3 separate regions of the Homo sapiens genome follow, and regions 1 and 3 are each linked to region 2. The links are contacts of gene promoters, found by promoter capture Hi-C in blood cells and fetal thymus (Javierre and others, 2016). All regions are on one chromosome and are shown on one strand. Each heading gives the region's core, a stretch centred on a gene start or on the middle of the fragment in contact. The rest is flanking DNA. Distances are from core to core; before and after follow the strand shown. Region 1 overlaps EFHD2 (EF-hand domain family member D2). Region 2 holds the start of TMEM51-AS2 (TMEM51 antisense RNA 2). Region 3 overlaps FHAD1 (forkhead associated phosphopeptide binding domain 1).

Evidence for each region. Contacts are between HindIII fragments. The CHiCAGO score rates a contact against its expected background, and 5 or more counts as called.
Region 1: a contact is called between a fragment that was not itself captured here and the fragment with the promoter of TMEM51-AS2 in region 2, in 1 of 17 cell types (endothelial precursors). The highest score is 5.1, in endothelial precursors.
Region 3: a fragment that was not itself captured here is called in contact with the fragment with the promoter of TMEM51-AS2 in region 2 in 4 of 17 cell types (monocytes, M1 macrophages, M0 macrophages and 1 more); the score reaches 8.0 in monocytes.

Annotation. Positions count from the first base shown.
Region 1 is chr1:15,413,905-15,417,381 of GRCh38, forward strand. The region is part of intron 1 of EFHD2 (EF-hand domain family member D2); the gene reads left to right. Among named protein-coding and RNA genes, the nearest start is that of EFHD2-AS1, 3.3 kb to the left of the region's middle. RefSeq lists enhancers at 2,403-2,902, 2,651-2,740 and a silencer at 3,109-3,403. The HindIII fragment of the contact is 6,712 bases long and covers 1-3,477 here.
Region 2 is chr1:15,170,271-15,173,507 of GRCh38, forward strand. It overlaps TMEM51-AS2 (TMEM51 antisense RNA 2), which reads right to left and starts at 1,354. Exons shown (of 3, transcript NR_167931.1): 1 at 1,341-1,354; 2 at 911-1,045. The region is part of intron 1 of TMEM51 (transmembrane protein 51); the gene reads left to right. RefSeq lists an enhancer at 1,874-2,043. The HindIII fragment of the contact is 7,186 bases long and covers 1-3,237 here.
Region 3 is chr1:15,312,301-15,315,495 of GRCh38, forward strand. FHAD1 (forkhead associated phosphopeptide binding domain 1) reads left to right here. Exons shown (of 34, transcript NM_001391957.1): 8 at 757-887. Among named protein-coding and RNA genes, the nearest start is that of FHAD1-AS1, 30 kb to the right of the region's middle. The HindIII fragment of the contact is 8,292 bases long and covers 1-3,195 here.

The sequences.
Region 1 (3,477 bases), core at 978-3,477, 240 kb after region 2:
GGCTACGTCCAGCATCTCTGATCCCCCAGCTGCTCCCTCCCTCTCTTTGCTCCTCCAGGGCTGGCTCTGGAACCCTCCTGTCAGAGAGGCAAAGAGAATGGCCCTGGAGAGCCTCGGGAGTGCCCACCCCTGGGCTGACAACAGCCTAGCGGGGGCTCTGGAGGGTTTTGTAAGTTGAGACCTGCTGGAAAGGTAGGCAGCCGTGTAATTCTGAACCTGCCGTGGAATCTGAGGACGATGCCCTAGATCCCTGTCTCCCGCCTAGCACAGCCTTGCAGGCCCTGTCCCCACTGTCATCCCCAGCCACTTCATCTCAGGACACCTTACGTCAGAGAGGCAGGCTTTCCTTTCCTTCTGGCCAGCTCTTCCCTGCACAAGCTCTGGAAGCCTCCCGCCCTCTTCTCCACACCTCCACCTCCAGGGGACACACCTCTCCCAGGAGCCCTTCCTGGACGCAGTCAGCAGGGCCTCTGGAGTCTGCAGCCCTGGGTTTGAATACAGCTGTGGGCTGTGGAGCCCTTCTGAGCTTCTGTTCCTCACGCTGGAACAGCGGGGACAGGGGGACCCACGTTACAGGGTTGTTGTATGGCGCTTAGCCCAGTGCTTGGCACAGAGCAAGTCGTTACTAAATGACTGTCACCGCCATCCCCAGCTCAGCATACACCCTCTCCTGGGCCCCTCATAGGGCCCTGGCAGTGGTCATTGCGGCTGGCTCAGAGGCAGCTCCACAGTGCCCACTGGCTGCCTCCACTTAACCACCAGCGGAGCTTCCAGGTCTGCCAGGTTGTCGACAACCCTTTGCTTTGGGCCCTAGTGACAGGACGCAGGGTTAGAGCCCTCCTTCTCTCCTGCTGAACAGCCACTCTGATTGACAGCTACATATGGCTTTGATAAATAACAAAAAGGGAGAAATGAATTCATTATCACCTAGTTTCAGGGAAGGCAGGTGGCACAAAAAAGGGGAGAGCAAACAACAGCTCTGGAGGGTGCACAATGGGGATTCCCGTCTGCCACCACCCAGCTGGGTTGCTCCAGGCAAGGGACTCAGCATCTCTGAGCCTCAGTTTCCCCTGGGGCTCAAGAACCTACCTGGTAAAGTTCTGAGGATTAGGTATAAAAACACCCTGAGTCTTTGTGACGAGCCCATCATGGTGTCTGGGCTGTTTGCATGATAGATGATGTTTTTGAAAAATACAAGGTTCTCGTATGTGATCATTCTTCCAACAGATATTAAGTTTTTGCGCTACAAGATCCAGAGAATTAAATGAATCAAGTTCCTGCCCTCAAGAGGCTTATAGCCTTATATAGAACAAACATGTATAGAGGTTTGGGGATAGAGAGGATTGCACCCACAAGGCTAGCAATGGAAGGTTTTTTTCTTTATTTCTGCCATGATTACCGAAAGCTCTCATGAATGACACCATGCTGATGTTCTCTTTGTAGCCAGCCCCCTGCCTCTGTGCCCCCTCCTTGTTAAACAGAGCCACTAGTTCTAGCCATTCCTGGAGGAGCCTATGCATATTATTTAGAGAACTGAATTGAATTCTCACACCAGCACAATGAGATTGATACTGTCTTTGTTTTCCTTTTTTTTTTTTTTTTGAGATGGAGTCTCGCTCTGCCACCAAGGCTGAAGTACAGTGGCATGATCTTGGCTCACTGCAGCCTTCGTCTCCTGGGTTCAAGTGATTCTCCTGCTTCAGCCTCCCAAGTAGCTGGGACTACAAGCACACACCACCATGCCTGGCTAATTTTTGTATTTTTGAGTAGAGACGGGATTTCACCATGTTGGCCAGGCTGGTCTCGAACTTCTGACCTCAAGTGATCTGCCCGCCTCAGCCTCCCAAAGTGCTGGGATTACAGACGAGAGCCACCGCTCCCAGCCTGATACTATCATTTTTATCCCCATTTGACAGATGAGAAGACTGAGGCTCAAGGCGATTGTCACTTGTCTAAGATTATATTAAGTGGCAGTGACAGGATTAGAACCAGATCCTCCTGCAAGGAGCCCCTGGAGGCCAAGTGAAGCCGTGTTTGTGGCTGGGGCTTGGGGGAGCCTCCGAGAGCCTTAGAGAGGTGGAGAGGTGGGGTCCTTCACCTGCAGCTTAGGGTCAGTGGGTGGGGAGAATGCCCTGCACCCCTGGGGAGGAAGGATTTCCTGGCCTCGGTCCTTACTCCGTTCCTCCCACTTCCACTATGCATCAGCCTCTGAGTCACCTCTCCTTCCCCACACCCCCGGCCCAGGACTTTTGGTTCCTCTTTGGTCCACCCTTCCTGCCTTCTCCGGCTTCCTCGCTCTCCTCCATGCTACCTGGGTCCAAGGCCTGGTGGCTTGGACTGGCTTCCACTGTGAGAGTCTAGGCTCCAGGACAGCAGGCCTTGCTGCCTCAGGGGATGTCAGAGGTCGTTTCCTCAAGGCCAGCCCTGCCGGCAGAGGCAGAGTCACTTTGCAGCCTCAGCAGGGAAGGTCCCCACACCCTGGAGCAGCTGAGTTCCCCTGACTGCCGGGCAACCTTCTCCTTGGCTGACTTCTGCTTTTCAAGGACAACAGAGAGGCAGGGGTCAGTGCCAGAAAGGTGTGGCCAGATGGGAGCCGGGCCGCCCAGGGAGTCCTGAGCCACAGACACTTCAAACCAGATGCTTTGCCTCCCGTTCAGTCCTTTCTTATCCTGCAACATTATCCTCGCCCATTTCACAGTTAAGGAGGCTGGACTTTCAGAAGGGTTATGTGACTTGTCCAAAGTCACATAGCCAGTGAGGGGCAGAATAGGATTTGAACCTGGGCCTCCCCGGCTCCAAGTCCTCTGAACCCTTACAGTGGCCCAAACACCAGCAGCTTCACCGCCCGGGAGTATGTTAGAAATGCAGATGCTCAGATTCCACCCCAGATTTACCAGACTGTAATCTGCAATTTTTTTTTTTAAGAGACAGAGTCTTGCTCTGTCACTCAGACCAAGTGCAGTGGTACGATCATAGCTCACTGCAGCCTCAACTTCCTGGGCTTAAGTGATCCTCCCACCTCAGCCTCCTGAGTAGCTGGGACTACAGGCACATGCCACCACATCCAGCTAATTTTTTTTTATTTTTGTAGAGATGGGGTCTCATTATGTTGCTCAGACTGGTCTCAAACTCCTGGCCCCAAGCCACCCTCCCACCTCATCCTCCCAAAGTGCAGGGATTACAGGCATGAGCCACCACGCCCAGCCCATAATCCGCACTGTAACCAGCTTCACCAGGTGTGCACACTGACGTTTAAGAAGCGCTAAGCCTCGGCTCAGGCCCCCGCACAGCCGTCTCCCCACCACTTCCTGAGGTTGACCTAAGGTTATCCTTAGGTGGGTGACTTTGTCTGAGCTGTAAGAGGATAAGATGTATGGAGTAAAGATTAAGTTACGTTATAAACACTGGGTTATGTTAATATTAGGCATTCAATAAATATTCTTTATAATCACTATCATAACAATAATGACTATGAAG
Region 2 (3,237 bases), core at 104-2,603:
CTTCCTCCTTTCCCTCCTCTCCCCCGGCCCTCTGCTGCAGGGCAAGGTAAAGCTAGGTGCCTGGGATACTGCTGGGTTTTTTTTTATCTTTTTTTTTTTTTGAGATGGAGTCACTGCAACCTCCGCCTTCCAGTTTCAAGCGATTCTCCTGCCTCAGCCTCCTGAGTAGCTGGGATTACAGGTGCGCACCACCACGCCCGGCTAATTTTTGTATTTTTTGGTAGAAACGGGGTTTTGCCATGTTGCCCAGACTGGTATCAAACTCCCAGGCTCAAGTGATCTGCCCACCTCAGGCTCCCAAAGTGCTGGGATTATAGGCGTGAGTCACCACCACACCTGGCCTATTTTAACCATTTTTAAGTGTACAATTCTGGGACATTAAGCACATTTACAGTGCTGTGTGACCATCGCCACTGTCTTTTTTCCAGAACTACTACATCATCCCAAACAGAAATGGAGGCAGGTTTTCTTTTTTTGAGACGGAGTCTCCCTCTGTCGCCCAGGCTGGAGTGCAGTGTTGCGATCTCAGCTCACTGCAAGCTCCGCCTCCCGGGTTCATGCCATTCTCCTGCCTCAGCCTCCCAAGCAGCTGGGACTACAGGCGCCCTCCACCACGCCTGGCTAATTTTTTGTATTTTTAGTAGAGACGGGGTTTAACCGTGTTAATCAGGATGGTCTCGATCTCCTGACCTCATGATCCGCCCGCCTCGGCCTCCCTAGAGGCAGGTTTTCTAAATGCTTGCATGAGTGGTTCTCCATCTTCAGCTTGTGTTAGAATCCTCTGGGGTGGGGGGCTTGTTAAAACATAGATTGCTGGGTCCTCCCTCCTCCTCCACCCCCCGCCACATCCCCCACCCCCAGTTGCTGATTCAGTAGGTCTGAGTGGGGCCCCAGGATTTGCATTTCTAACCAGCTCCTGGGTGACGCTGATGCTGTTGATTTGGGGCCACGCCTGGAAGATCGCTGTTTGAGATCAAAAGGTTTGCAGGTCAGAGTGGATGACGGCATCCTTCCAGGTCAATGAGAGAAGCCAAACTTCTATGACCTATGAGATAAGGGGTTTGTTATAGGAATTAGTTCTTATGCATTCATAGGGGGGGCGGCAGAAAGGAAGGTGGAAGAGTTGCCGGGGACCAGGGGCATCGCCACCTGGCCCTGGGTACACGGGCAAACTGGTGGAGAAGTCTACAGCCAGCCGTTGTCTGGTCCATCCCCAGCCAAGTGTCCGCGGGGGGGCCTGGGCTGCTGTTGGTTAACAGGACCAGCAGTCAGGAGAAAGAGCTGGATGCAGAATGGAGGACAGGCTCGAATGTGCTGGAACCCACGGGGCTGTCTCTCACCTCATCCAATCATGATGACCTCTAAAGTGTAATGGTCGCTGCTTCACTTCCATCTCCCAGCTTTCCACAGATTCCTCTTTTGACCAATTATAACCCAGAACCAGTCAGAGAAGGGGATTCTGGGAAAAGTAGTTCCAGCTTAACCAAGCCCGCACAGCAGGAACTACCACAGCTGATCAATCAGTCCTTGCCGCGGAACCTCCTCCTTGAACCCACAGGTGGTTTCTGGGGCTCTGCTGGGCGTTCCCTGACTCTCTTGACAGGACCTTCTAGCAGAAACAGATGTGGTCCATCCCAACAACCCCTTGCTCAGATCATCAGCTGAGAACTTAATAAAAGCAGATTTCCAGGCCCCAGCCCAGGCCTGCCGAGTCAGACTTCAGCAGTGGGACTCAGGAATCAGATTTTCAAACAAGCTCTCTAGCTGATTAACATACCCAGCCACGTTTGAAACTTCTGAAGTATGGAAAAGAAAGTGGACTCTGTCCAGGCACAGTGGCTCACACCTGTAATCCCAGCACTTTGGGAGGCTGAGGCAGGTGGATCGCTTGAGCCCAGGAGTGCAAGACCAGCCTGGGCAACATGGCAAAACTCCATTTCTGCAAAAAAGAAAAAATACCAAAATTAGTGGAGCATGGTGACACGTGCCTGTAGTCCCAGCTACTTGGAAGGCTGAGGTGGTAGGGTCACCTGACCCTGGGAGGTCAAGGCTGCAGTGAGCCAAGATTGTGCCACTGCACCCCAGCCTGGGCAACAGAGTGAGTGAGACCCTGTCTCAAAAAAAAAAAAAAAAAAAAAGGAAGGAAGGAGGAGGGAGGGAGGAAAGAAAAGAATGGAAAGGAAGGAAGGAGAGAGAGAAAGAAGAAAAAAGAAAGAGAAGAAGGAGAGAGAGAGAGACAGAGACAGAAGAAAAAGGAAAAGAGAAAGTAAGTGAACTCTGGGGCTAGACAGCCACGGGTTAGAATTCTGGTTCCACCACGTGCCAGCTTTGTGATCCTGAGCAAGTGACTTAACCCTTTATGATCCTATATTGTCTACAAGAGTTCCTCCTTTTCTATCATTTCACTCTCCACTGTTTCAGTTACCCATAGCCAACTACAATCTGAAAATATTAAATGGAAAATTCCGGAAAGATATGATTCATAAGTTTTAAATTGCATCCCATTCTGAGTAGTGTGATGAAATCTCACACTGTCCCACTCTGTCCTGCTCCAGACGTGAATCGTCTCTTTGTCCAGCAGATGGGTGCTGTCGACACTACCTGCTCATTGGTCACTTAGGAGCGGTCTGGGTTATCAGATCAGAAAACGTCGTCGTTATGTGTAAGGTCGGGTGCTGTCTGTTGTTTCAGGCATCCACTGGGGGTCTTGGAACGTATCCCCCGAGGATATGTACTCAGCTGTTAAATGGGCTCAATGCCTACCTTTTTCATGGAGGGTTGTGGGAACCGAATGAGGCCATGTGTAATAAACTTCTGGCAGGTGAAATATTATTGTGCTTAATCCAGTTAATAGTTGTGCCTGGACATGCCTAGGGAGTAGGTCAGATGGGCCCAGCATCTCCTCTTTCTGCTTAGGAATCTGGGGTTTAACCTGATCATATTCTTTTTTTTTTTTTTTTTTTTTTTGAAACGGAGTTTCGCTCTTTTGCCTAGGCTAGAGTGCAGTGGCGCAATCTCGGCTCACTACAACCTCTGCCTCCCAGGTTCAAGCGATTCTCCCGCCTCAGCCTTCCGAGTAGCTGGGATTACAAGCGCACACTACCACGCCCAGCTAATTTTTTGTATTTTTAGTAGAGACGGGGTTTCACCATGTTGGCCAGGCTGGTCTCGAACTCCTGACCTCAAGTGATCCACCCACCTCAGCCTCCCAAAGTGCTGGGATTACAGGCGTGAGCT
Region 3 (3,195 bases), core at 159-2,658, 140 kb after region 2:
TAGCCACTCTACTATGTTCTTTATACAACTCTGTAGATACAATGAGAGGTTAAATAACTTCTTCAGACCACTAAGCTAGGCTGGGCATTGTGGCTCACATCTGTAATCCCAGCACTTTGGGAGACAGAGGCTGGTGGATTGCTTCAGCCTGGGAGTTTGAGACCCGCCTGGGCAACATGGGCAAAACTCCATGTCTACAAAAAATACAAAAATTAGCCAGGCATAGTGGCACGTACCTGTAGTCCTAGCTACTTGGGAGGCCAAGGCAGGAGGATCGCCTGAGTCCAGGAGGTCGAGGCTGTAGTGAACCATGATCGTGCCACTGTACTCCAGCCTGGGTGACAGAGTAAGACCCTGTCTCAAGAAAAAAGACGACTGAGCTAGTAAGTGCTAGAGACGGTTTCCAAACTCAGATGAGTGTGAATCAACACGTCCCTTGCTGCCACAGGCCCATGTCGTGGCCCCTCCTGGTCCCTCTCTCTGCTGAGCCTTTGTTCCCAGGCAGGGCCGATGCCCACAGCACCCCGACAGATGTTTCCTGTCTCCAGCAACACGCACTGACTGACCTCTCCTTCTCACTGGGACCTTGAACAAATGATGTGCAGTGGATATTGGTCTCAACCCCATTCAAGCTCCTGGGATCCTTGGAGACACCTCCCTTCTCAGTGCCAGGCTCGTCACAAACTGGTTGACAGCGGCAGCGATGACAGTCATCCTCACTGCCTCTTTGACCTCTGCGAGTCTTCTTTTTTACAGGGATGGTGTCATCTTTGCAAAAAGACATATTAGCAAAGGATGAGCAAGTTCAACAACTAAAGGAAGAGGTCAGTCACCTAAAAAGTCAGAACAAGGACAAGGACCACCAGCTGGAAGCCCTTGGCTCTAGAGTGAGTAAGGATGACTGCGTCACCTTGTAGCCATCCGGTGAAAAGCAGCTAAAGTGAAGTCACGTGATATGCTTGTTTCATTCACCCTGGGCCCTTAGTTTAAATTTCATTCCTTCCTCTCACACCATTGTGCTGGGGGCGGGGTGGTGGGGGGGTGGGCGTTGGGGGCAAAACATGAAATGCCTACCTAGAAAAACTAAAACAGCTGGCCACATTCTTTGCACCTTTTCAAAGATCGGCGTGCACGTGCCCCAGAATAAGCAAGATGTAGCTTCAACTCCAGGAAACATTTTCTAATGCCCATTATAAATGAGTTTGGTTAATTCCAGCAGTAAATGCACCTCTCAGCTTGGCTATTTCCATGGCAAGGCTTAATATTAAAGCAGAATAGAATCACTGCATGCAAAAGAGGACACGGTGGGCTTCCCCTCATCCCAGTAACCACTGGTTTGCACAGTCACCTTCGAAGCAGAATGTTTGCAGGCCCAAGTGCAGTTAGACAGACTTTCATTTCTTCCCTTAGACTTTAGTGTGGGTAAGAATATTCTGTGTGGAGTGAACCTGGTAGGCAAGTCAAGAGCTGTTTAAAAGTAATTTTGAGGCCAGGCACGGTGGCTAATGCCTGTAATCCCAGCACTTTTGGGAGGCCGAGGCTGGTGGATCACACGAGATCAGGAGTTTGAGGCCAGCCTGGCCAACATGGTGAAAATCTGTCTCTGCTAAAAATAACAAAAATTAGCCAGGCGCCTGTAATCCCAGCTACTCAGGAGGCTGAGGCAGGAGAATAGCTTGAACCTGGGAGGCAGAAATTGCAGTGAGCTGAGATCGCGCCATTGCACTCCAGCCTGGGCAACAAGAGTGAAACTCCGTCTCAAATAATAATAATAATAATAATAATAATAATAATAATAATAACTATTTGCAAAATGTACCTCAATGCTCTGACTTTAGAATCCTGAACCTATAGGATTTCTCAGTATTTGTGAGATGTGTCTGTTTCGGTGAGTCAAGGTAAAACCTAACAGCTTTCATCTCAGGTGTGCCTGAAGAGTTCGCCAAGTCTGCATGGGCACCCAGGCAGGGTGGATCTGGGGGTCCAAGGATGAAGCAGCAGTAGTGACCTCTGGCTCTGACCGCAGTGCCCCAACTGGAGCTGGGGAAAGGCAGGACAGGAGCCCCGGGGGCACACAGACCAGGGTCCGAGCCCAGAGTGGGCTTTTGTTATAACTGATGTGGCCTCCCCTTTGTCATCAGCGAAATGGGAACAACAAAATCAGTTTTGAGAAGTGAGAGGCCGGTTTGCATTGTGCGCTTCCGCCTCTGCGGCTGGTTAGCCCGCCTCGCCCAGCCCTCTGCATCCGTCCCCCGAGCAGGGTCACCGCCTGGATTACATGTGTTGTCGCCCTTTCAGGTGTGTGGGTATGTGGGTGTGGGTGTGAGGATGTATGTGGGTGTGTGGGGGTATGGATGTGTGGTGTGGGGGTGAATGGGTGTGTGGGGATGTGGATGTGTGTAAGTGTGTATGGGTGTGTGTGGATATGGGTAGGTGTGTGTGTGAGTGTGGTGTGTGGGGGTGTATGGGTGTGTGGGGGTATGGATGTGTGGTGTGGGGGTGAATGGGTGTGTGGGGGTGTGGATGTGTGTAGGTGAGTGGGTGAGGGGGCGTGTGGATGTGTGGGTGTGGTGTGGTATGGGGGTGCGTGTGGGGTGTGTGGGGTGTGTGGATGTGTGTCGGGGCTGTAGAGCTGATGTTAGGTGGGAGAAATACGGAGAAACAGCAGCTCCGGAGCTCTTCTGCCCACGAAGTGCATTTGGGTTACTTGTGTCCCCATTTCCCTTCCCCGTTGACCTTGGAACAGGTCTGCCTTCTTCTCCAGGCCGCACCTGGCGTTCATCAGCACGTGGGCTCCTCGTGACCAAGGGTATTGCTCATGTGAACATCCGAATGACTGTCTTTATTTTTCAAATTACATGTGCTGTGTTAATTTTAGAATAAAAAGTAGATAAAACTGGAGAGCAAAATTAAAGAGAGAAGAGAAATGCCACCGCCAAGAAATCTATGTCAGTACTTGAGTGCATATTCCTTCTGTTTTGTTTCTAAAATTACCTGGAAAAAATATATCTGTAACAGATATATAACAACAAATTTACACTATATACATTTTTTAAACTTTAAACAATTACTGTTTCCTCACATGGATAAGAGCTTTTCTCATGGGTCTTTAAAGCTCCATGACATTCTCTTGTCTGTGCACAATGGAATCAAACAGCCCCGGGTTATCGGACATGGGTGTTTCCTTTTTTTTTT